2 separate regions of the Homo sapiens genome follow, and region 1 is linked to region 2. The links are contacts of gene promoters, found by promoter capture Hi-C in blood cells and fetal thymus (Javierre and others, 2016). All regions are on one chromosome and are shown on one strand. Each heading gives the region's core, a stretch centred on a gene start or on the middle of the fragment in contact. The rest is flanking DNA. Distances are from core to core; before and after follow the strand shown. Region 1 overlaps EIF3J (eukaryotic translation initiation factor 3 subunit J). Region 2 holds the start of GOLM2 (golgi membrane protein 2).

Region 1 (5,034 bases), core at 842-3,341, 260 kb after region 2:
GTTCCCAGTTAGTTATTTTATACTTCAGGACTCAGGGAAGAAGTCATATTTACTATAATACTATTTTTATTTTTATTATTTTGCATTGGAATTGCATTGGAATTGCTTTATTCCAGCGAATTAAATTGTTTACCAGACTGTGAATTTTGTAAGCAAGTGTTTAAAACATGCTTTTTAAAGACCTTCCTTAACATTGTGTTTAAAGCCTTAAATGAAGCTGTTTACATGTATACATTTAAAGGATGTATCTCAGCATGTTACTCTAAAGATGTGTTGTAAGCTGCTTTATTACAGTGAATTGAACTCTACTAAACCGTGAACTTTGTAAGCAAGTGTTTAAAACATGCTTTTTAAAAAAGTAAATCATTTTATTTTCAATAAAAAGGTCAGTCAAATGTTTAGTTATTTAAAACTTTTTTAAAATTAGTTTTTATAATTGGCAAATAATGTACATATTTATGGGGTATATTGTGATGTTTCAATGCATGTATACATTGTAATTACCATTTCATCACTTTAAACATTTATCATTTCTTTGTGGTGTTAACATTCAAAATTTTCTTATGGAACTATCTTGAAATATATAACATTGTTATTAGCTATAATCACCGTACTGTGTAATAGAACACCAGAACTTATTCTTCTAACTGTAACTTTATACCTATGACACTTTAAAGAACTTTGGTCCATTCAGAGCAGGTCCCTTAGTTTTTCACTGAGATTGTGGGTTGGCTATGTCTGGGCCTGGGTTTCCTTTTCTTTAAAATGGGGGAATAACACTACCTTCTTACAGGACTGTTGTGAGAATTAACCTTGTTACTACACCTGTTTCTCAGAAGGGTTTTAAATATGCATCTTCTGGAAGTAAGCAAATGGTCCTCCTATCTGAAACACTGCCCCCTATCACTCACAGATCCAGCCTTCCTGTGTTCTGTGAAGATTTAAACAACAAAAAATGCCTAGTAATTCACTTTTATTTTTAGCTCTTTGGTTCCTTTTGTACTGTGATGTATAGCACTTAGCAAACTAACGGCGAAATACAAACGTTTGATCTCTAATTTCTAACTCTAGTATCACAGTTACTCAAATAATGACTAGCTGGTTTGCTTTCAATCTGTTAAAACTGCGAGCTGTGGGTTAAATTGCTGAAGTAAGATGAATATAAAAATACACTTACTTTTTAATACAAAGTTCCTTTAATTATGCTTGCAGACTGTATGACAGCCTTAATCAGGATGTTGAATTTTTAATTTCTTTACTGGACTTAGAGATTTTTATTAAGAACCAAGGCTTGGTTAGTTTATATTCCTAGACTGATACAAATTTGTGATCTGTCGTGTTATGAAACCAGAAGCTTGGTGTCATATTGTGGCATATTAGTCATACTAGTCAGCCTTTGCTTCTTTAGTAGCATCAGGGCCTCTTGCCCTGCTTTTGCCATCTTGCCACTCAGCTTCAAATGGCATGTCATAGTGTGCCTGGTGGCTGCTGAGACAATGGCCAGGCTACCTATGATTAAAGCCATCTTTAATCATAGGGCTGTGTCTGTCCCTATTAAACTTGAGCCTTCTAAGTTCTGTGGAGCTTTTAGAAAATTGTGTTTGATAATTGGTTTATATTTAGCTCAATGATTGAGTTAGGCATAGAAAAAACAGAGTATAGATCTTTTTTTTTTTTTTTTTTTTTTTTTTTTGAGACAGAGTCTCTGTTGCCTAGGCTGGAGTGCAGTGGCTCGATCCTGGCTCACTGCAGCTTCGCCTCCTGTGCTCAAATGATTCTTGTTCCTCAGCATCCTGAGTGGCTAGGATTACGGGCGTGCACCACCATGCCCACCTAATTTTTGTATTTTTTAGTATAAACGGGGTTTCATCATGTTGGCCAGGCTGGTCTCGGAACTCCTGGTCTCAAGTGATCTGCCTGCCTCGGCCTCCCAAAGTGCTGGGATTAAAGTGCCCTGAGTTAGAGAGTGGGATCCATGAAGGCTTGATTAGCTGTTGACTTTTTTTTGTGAGACGGAGTTTCATTCTTGTTGCCCAGGCTGGAGTGCAATGGCGCGATCTCGGCTCACCACAGCCTCTGTCTCCTGGGTTCAAGCAATTTTCCTGCCTCAGCCTCCCGAGTAGCTGGGATTACAGGCATGTGCCACCACACCCAGCTAATTTTGTATTTTTAGTAGAGACGGGGTTTCTCCATGTTGGTCAGGCTGGTCTTGCATTCCCGACCTCAGGTGATCTGCCTGCCTTGGCCTCCCAAAGTGTTGGGATTACAGGCGTAAGCCGGCCTTGATTCTTTTTTTTTTTTTTTTTTTTTTTTGAGACGAAGTCTCGCCGCACTGTCACCTGGGCTGGAGTGCAGTGGCACAATCTTGGCTCACTGCAACCTCCCACTCCTGGGTTCAAGTGATTCTCCTGCCTCAGCCCCCAAGTAGTTGGGATTATAGGTGTCTGCCACCACGCCCAGCTAATTTTTTGTATTTTTAGTAGAGACAGGGTTTCACTATGTTGGCCAGGCTGGTCTCAAACTCCTGACCTCGTGATCCGCCCACCTCAGCCTCCCAAAGTGCTGGGATTACAGGCATGAGCCACGCACCCGGCCTGACTCCTTTTTAATAGTGGGCTTTAGAATTATATAGACTTAATTCATTAACCAGGCTTATGTTGTATGGAATACTACTTGAAATAAATGAGCTATTGGCCAGAGTATAGGATGCTTTTTACATTTGGGGGGAAGTAAGAACTATAAAGTTCTCTCAGTTTTTATTTATTAATAACTGAATCACTTTCAGAGAGGCTATTGATTTCAGCTAGGTTGTCCTAACTGCTAATGGAGAAGCTTTCTTATGAAGTTAGATAAGTTGATATGAGGGTTCATATGGAAAAACAAAACATGCAAGAAAGGCCAAGAAAACACTAAAAAATCTGAAAACCTACAAGGAAGGACTAGCTCTAGCTGACATTAAAGTAAAGCCTCTGTAATTAAAACAGTACCGGCTGGGCATGGTGGCTCACGCCTGCAATCCCAGCACTTTGGGAGGCTGAGGATCACCTGATGTCAGGAGTTCGAGACCAGCCTGGTCAACATGGAGAAACCCCGTCTCTACTAAAAATACAAAAATTAGCCCGGCATGATGGTGGACACCTGTAATCCCAGCTACTCCAGAGGCTGAGGCTGGAGAGTCACTTGAACCCAGGAGGCAGAGGTTGCAGTAAGCTGAGATCGCGCCATTGCACTCCAACCTGGGCGACAAGAGTGAAACTCCGTCTCAAAAAACAAGACCAAAAAAACCCAGTATGGTACCGTTATATGGAGAGACAGTAGACTAGTGGGATAGGATCAAAAGCCCAGAAATAGACCAAGTACATATGAAAATTTAGTATATGGTAAGTCACAAGGTATCTTAAAATGTTTTTTGCTGCAATAGAATGCAATAGACTGGGTATTGTATAAACAACAGATTTATTTCTTATGGTTATGGAGGCTGAGAAGTCCAGTATCAAGGTGCTGGCATCTGGCGAGGGCCTTCTTGCTCTATTATCCTGGGGCAGAAGGGCAAAAGAGCACAAAGGATTGCAGGAGGTGTCAGAACTCATCCTTTTATCAGATATCTACTCCTAATATAAAGGTATTAATAATTCATTCATGAGGGCTTTGCCTCTAATCATTTCTAAAAGACCCTACTTCTCAACACTGTTGGATTGGAGATTTCATCACATGAACTTTGGAGGACACATTCAAACCATAGCCCAGGGAAAAAAACCATTATTTATTAAAGGGTTTTTAATAAATGATGCTGTGACAACTGGGTAGCCATTTGGGAAAAAAATGAAATTAGATCCATGTTGCATATCATAACACAAGAAAAAAACTCCAAATCAGAGATCTAAATAAAAAAAAAAATGAAACCCTATACATTCTAGAAGAAATTGTGGGTGAATTCTTAGGTGTAAGAAAAGACTTTCTGGCTGGGCGAAGTGGCTCATGCCTGTACTCCCAGCACTTCGGGAGGCTGAGGTGGGCGGATCACCTGAGGTTGGGAGTTCGAGATCAGCCTGACCAACATGGACAAACCCCATCTCTACTAAAAATACAAAGTTAGCCAGGCATGGTGGTGCATGTCTAATCCCAGCTGCTTGGGAGGCTGAGGCAGGAGAATTGCTTGAACCCGGGAGGTGGAGGTTGTAGTGAGCCTAGATCATGCCATTGCACTCCAGCTTGGGCAACCAGAGCAAAACTCCAACTCAAAAACAAAACAAAACAAAACAAAACAACAAAAAAACAAGAAAAGACTTTCTAATTGACTTGAAATCCATCCAGAGGCAATGAAAGAAAAGACTGGGGCTAGGCACGGTGGCTCACGCCTGTAATTCCAGCACTTCGGGAAGCCGAGGCGGGCGGATCATGAGATCAGGAGTTCGAGACCAGTGTGACCAACATGGTGAAATCCTGTCTATACTAAAAATACAAAATTAGCCAGGCATGGTGGCATGTGCTGGTAATCCCAGCTACTCGGGAGGCTGAGGCAGGAGAATCACTTGAACCTGGGAGGCAGAGGTTGCAGTGAGCTGAGATCGTCCCTGTATTCCAGCCTGGGCGACAGAACGAGACTCCGTCTCAAAAAAAAAAAAAAAAAAAAAAAAAACCATTTCTACTAAAAATAAATGAGCCAGGCATGGTGGTGTATGCCTGTAATCCTAGTTACTGGGGAGGCTGAGGCAGGAGAATCGCTTGAACCTAGGAGGTGGAGGTTGCAGTGAGCTGAGATCGTGACATTGCACTCCAGCCTGGGCAAGAAACTCCGTCTCAAAAAAAAAAAAAAAGTCTGGTAAATTTTATTGCATAAATTTGTTGGGATGCATAGCAATTCATGGGGAAACAATAGAGGCATTTCCATCAAGAAAGCAAGGATGCCCATTACTTCTGCTGCTGTTCAACATTGCACTAGAGGTTTAGCTGGCCCAATTAGGTAAATCACTTGTGAGGGCCTAAGGATTGGTAGAGAAGTAAAGCTATCTTTTGTTTGCAGATAAGGTAGCA
Region 2 (4,918 bases), core at 132-2,631:
TTTTTGAGGATAGGAAGCACAGAATAATTAAGATGACAAGTCTTCCTGCCTCAAAATCATATCACTCTGATTCGAATAAAAAATACCAAGGTTTTTCCTTCTTGAGGTTTTATACTCATGGAAGTTCTTCAACCTGAGGTCTGAAAAATAAGGCAACCCCATCCTCTCCTTAAACAGGTTAGAGCCAGTACCTTTTTATTTCTCTATGCACGGACAAAATAATTATGCAAAAAAAAAAAAGAGGCAGGTTTTGTTTTTTTTTTTGCACTACTGAAATTCACACTTAACATATAAACAATCTGCTATATGCAGACAGCACTGGTGTTTAGAGTTCAATGATCTGGATTCAAGCCTATTTAAAACCAGATAAGAGAAAGTTCCCAAACATCTATGTGTCTTGGATTCTTCATCTGTAAAATTGCGTTGTTGAGAAGATAATATGAGACTAGGCGCGCAAAACAATTTGTTAGAGCTATTATTTCTAACCCGGAATGTGTTCGCTGGCAGTAACAGTGCATTAGTTACGATTCATCGAGGGCAGCTTCTGGACTTTCTGTTTGGAAGCCCAGCTGAGGCAAAAGCAGCAGTGCGTTTAAAAATTGGAGCTCGCCACATTCTGAAATTCTTTCGGTTCGTGAAAGCAGTAACCTAGGAAACGAGACTGGCACCACCCCTTTCAGTCCTAAAGCTTGGTTTCTCCCGCTTTTCTCCATTATGTTTAGGGCATCGCTATTTTACAGTCTTTTTGTTTTTTCTTTCCACATCATTAGCACAAAAGAGAAATTCCCCTTCTACAGAAGCAAGTACAAAACCTTTCTAGTCGCTCCTTTTTGGCAGCAGCTCACCTACTATTTTTTTCTATTCCGCGGTCGCAGCCCCAGACGTCCTCAAAGACAAATATTTTCGCGAGGGCCAGTGTAGGGCAGGAACTCCCTAGGCCTTGAATCAAGGGAATCCAGTAGATAACAACAGAAAGGACTCCGACCCAGGTACCTGAGACATCTGAGACCGCCAAAATTAACACAACACCCTACGCGACAGAGAAAACTCTGGGCGGGGAGAGAGAAAGAGAGCGAGCGAGCGAGAGAGAGAGAGAGCGAGAGAGAGAGAGAGAGAGAGAGAGAGAGAGAGAGAGAGAGAGAGAAAGAGAGCGAGCGAGAGAGAGCGAGAGAGCGAGAGAGCGAGAGAGCGAGAGAGCGAGAGAGAGAGAGAGAGAGAGAGAGAGAGAGAGAGAGAGAGAGAGAGAGAGAGAGAGACGAGAGGAAGCAACGTTCTCGCGACAAGAGGGGTGTCGACGGAAACTCGGAAATGGTCCCCTAGACGACCCGGCCCCAGCTAGTGGGTGGGGCCAGGGTACATCCGCCCCTTTCCGGTTTTTTTCCCCGCCTCCCAACCGTGAGGTGTTGGGTTTGGGGGACGCTGGCAGCTGGGTTCTCCCGGTTCCCTTGGGCAGGTGCAGGGTCGGGTTCAAAGCCTCCGGAACGCGTTTTGGCCTGATTTGAGGAGGGGGGCGGGGAGGGACCTGCGGCTTGCGGCCCCGCCCCCTTCTCCGGCTCGCAGCCGACCGGTAAGCCCGCCTCCTCCCTCGGCCGGCCCTGGGGCCGTGTCCGCCGGGCAACTCCAGCCGAGGCCTGGGCTTCTGCCTGCAGGTGTCTGCGGCGAGGCCCCTAGGGTACAGCCCGATTTGGCCCCATGGTGGGTTTCGGGGCCAACCGGCGGGCTGGCCGCCTGCCCTCTCTCGTGCTGGTGGTGCTGCTGGTGGTGATCGTCGTCCTCGCCTTCAACTACTGGAGCATCTCCTCCCGCCACGTCCTGCTTCAGGAGGAGGTGGCCGAGCTGCAGGGCCAGGTCCAGCGCACCGAAGTGGCCCGCGGGCGGCTGGAAAAGCGCAATTCGGACCTCTTGCTGTTGGTGGACACGCACAAGAAACAGATCGACCAGAAGGAGGCCGACTACGGCCGCCTCAGCAGCCGGCTGCAGGCCAGAGAGGGCCTCGGGAAGAGATGCGAGGATGACAAGGTAAGGACGACCCTTTTCTCTTCAAACCCCATGGTTTCTTTTCTCCCCGGGGTCTGGGGCGGGATGTTAATCCGCTAGCTGTTGTCTTATGCCTTCCAGTATTTCAGTCCTGAAGGCTCCTTTCACCCCCAACAACCCTGTTTCTGTCAGACTTTTCCCAGTTTATCAGTGCCACGTTCTCTGGTCCCTGCCAGAAAAAAATGACTGTAAATTCTGGTTCTCAAGAGTGGACTGTGTGCAGATGCTGCCTATTCTCTAAGCTCAGCTGGTGAGTTGGCAGTAGTAATCATCTGGCCTGTGTGGCCCCCTTACCTTCAAAGACACACAAATCTGGCGACTGCCAGGTTTGGTGTGGTTATTGTCTCATTTTTATTCCGTGCACACTGATCAATATTAATTTCGTTATTTAAAGAACGAAGCCGCCTCTGACTCCTCTACTTATGGTAGTCATCATATATTTTTTAAGCTGTGTGACTTTTAAAATCTCTATAGGGTGATGTATTGAATAACTAAATAATCAGCTATGACTGCCTTTTTGTGATCAAAATGTTATGATAGATGGGCCCTCGAGCTATATGTGAGACACACTTGTGTCTTGGACATAGTTGATCCATCATTATCTACTCAATTTGAATTGTTAATGAAATCAGCCAAAAGATTAGAATCTGAAAATAAATTTTAAGCAGTGGAATGTCATGTCAGTGTCTTCATTGAAAGAAAATAGAATGAAATTTTGTATAGCTAAGTTGCTATTAGGGTTGGTGTTTTATGCAGATGGAAAACTATACAAAGTTTTAAATATAAAAAGTTTAAAATTGAACTGTAATCATACTTGCTACTAAATAATCCTTGTTTTCATTAGCTCATTGGTAACTATATTAATAGTTTATGACTTAGCAACTTCTGTAGGTATAGTAGAGTTATGAAAATTTCTGGGCAGGATAGTAGATGCCTTTCTATACACTTCTTTGGTAATCTTCACATTTTTGTGTGTAAATGCCCATTATAATTACAAGTTTTACTTTGCATATCAAAATCACTTAAGGGTAAGTCATTATGAATTAAACTGTCTGTGAGCTTCTAACTTTCCTGTTGACAGCCTCTACCTGGCTTTCTTATTTCATGAAGATTAAGGCCCTCAGCTAAGTGCTTCCCTATAACCCCCTCCTCTTCACCATAACATAGACATGCTATGATAGGGTCAAGGAATCAGTACATTTATATGTGCGCTGCATGCTTAACTCTAAAGACTGAAAAACTCTCGGGCAGAGTAGGTAGAAATCCATGAAAGTTTGGAGTATTAAAGTAAGGTCTTCCTACTTGGCATGGTTGAGCATTACAATTCACATTCTTCTCTCTGGTCTCAAAGGAAAGTCTCTTGTTGTAATTAATACTCTTGATTCCATTCTTTCATCCATTGGACTTTTTGTTGTTGTCGTTGTTGTTGTTGTTGTTGTTTTTTGAGACGGAGTTTTGTTTTTGTTGCCCAGGCAGGAGTGCAATGGCGTGATCTCAGCTCACTGCAACCTCCGCCCCCCCGGGGTTCAAGCAATTCTCCTGCTTCAGCCTCCTGAGTAGCTGGGATTACAGGCATGCACCACCACGCCTGGCTAATTTTGTATTTTTAGTAGAGAAGGGGTTTCTCAATGTTGGTCAGGCTGGTCTTGAACTACCAACCTCAGGTGATCCGCCCGCCTCAGCCTCCCAAAGTGCTGGGATTACAGGTGTGAGCCACCATGCCCAGCCTCTTTTTTTTTTTTTTTTTTTAAAGAGACAGGGTCTCATTGTGTTGCCCAGGCTGGAGTGCAGTAGCTGTTACACAGGCATGATGCACTATAGCATTGAAATCCTGAGCTCAAGTGATCCTCCTGCTTCAGCCTCTGAGTAGCTGGGACTGCAGGTGTGCACCACCTTGCCCAGCTCTACTGAACTGTCTCTTTCAGTTTGTTTCACTTTTTACCTTCAACAGTATGTGGGTGTCCCCTGTTCTCAGTAAAGGAAAAAAAATCTGTATATTCCTTTCTCCCAACCAACCCATTTGTTTTTTCACTTTCATTGCTAAAGTCAAATTATTGATGGTCTACAAATGTTCCATCTACCTATTTTTTCATAACCATCCTAATCTTAAAATGTCTGCCATCTTTCTTTCCTCCCCTTTTTTGAAACTATTCTCTTGAAGGTCACAAATGGCAGTCTTCCTAGTCAAAACCAAAGAATATTTTTATTCTTACTGTATTTGACCTCCCAGTAGTTTGATCCTGTTGATTGTCTCTAGCTATTTGGAAACTATTTTCTTTCTTGCTTCTGTTATACTGGACTCTCCAGTCTTATCTTCTTCACTATATTCTTTGCTGGATTTATTTTTTCTTTCCAGTCACCTAGTAAGGGACTCTGTTATTGAGCCTTTGCTCTCCCATAAGAGCAGTATTCCCCAAAGTAGTGTTAAACAGAATACCCTTCTTGTAATATTTCTTAGGTGGTGAGGAGAAAAAAATGAAAACCTTTTTTGGAGGGAAATGTTAGTGTATCCTCCTCTTGGAATTCATAATGCCTGCTGGAATATAAAAGCTCTGAGAAATCCATTAATAAAGAAGGCTATTCAATTTTGTTTAACTCAGTCTTGTTTAGTTTATTTGATCACAGGTTACTATTTTCATGGCCTACCTATTATGGCACAGAATAATATAGCAAAGCCCACTAGTTTGGGAAATATTGCCCTGGGTATCTTAACTACTTTTAAGTGTTTGGCTAATATTTTATGCAGCTGGCTCACAAGACTGTATCTCTTATTGAATGTCAGTTCTGTGTGTGTATATGTGTATACATACATATATATATATATATATTTTTTTTTTTTTTTAGACAGAGTCTCGCTCGGTTAAGCAGGCTGGAGTACAGT

The links. Contacts are between HindIII fragments. The CHiCAGO score rates a contact against its expected background, and 5 or more counts as called.
Region 1: a fragment that was not itself captured here is called in contact with the fragment with the promoter of GOLM2 in region 2 in 3 of 17 cell types (erythroblasts, megakaryocytes and endothelial precursors); the score reaches 10.0 in erythroblasts.

What each region holds. Positions count from the first base shown.
Region 1 is chr15:44,545,152-44,550,185 of GRCh38, forward strand. The region is part of intron 2 of EIF3J (eukaryotic translation initiation factor 3 subunit J); the gene reads left to right. Among named protein-coding and RNA genes, the nearest start is that of EIF3J, 11 kb to the left of the region's middle. The HindIII fragment of the contact is 1,478 bases long and covers 1,353-2,830 here.
Region 2 is chr15:44,287,338-44,292,255 of GRCh38, forward strand. GOLM2 (golgi membrane protein 2) reads left to right here and starts at 1,382. Exons shown (of 10, transcript NM_138423.4): 1 at 1,382-2,019. The coding sequence starts at 1,693. RefSeq lists enhancers at 441-1,347, 729-798, 1,194-1,488 and a silencer at 1,299-1,658. The HindIII fragment of the contact is 5,453 bases long and covers 687-4,918 here.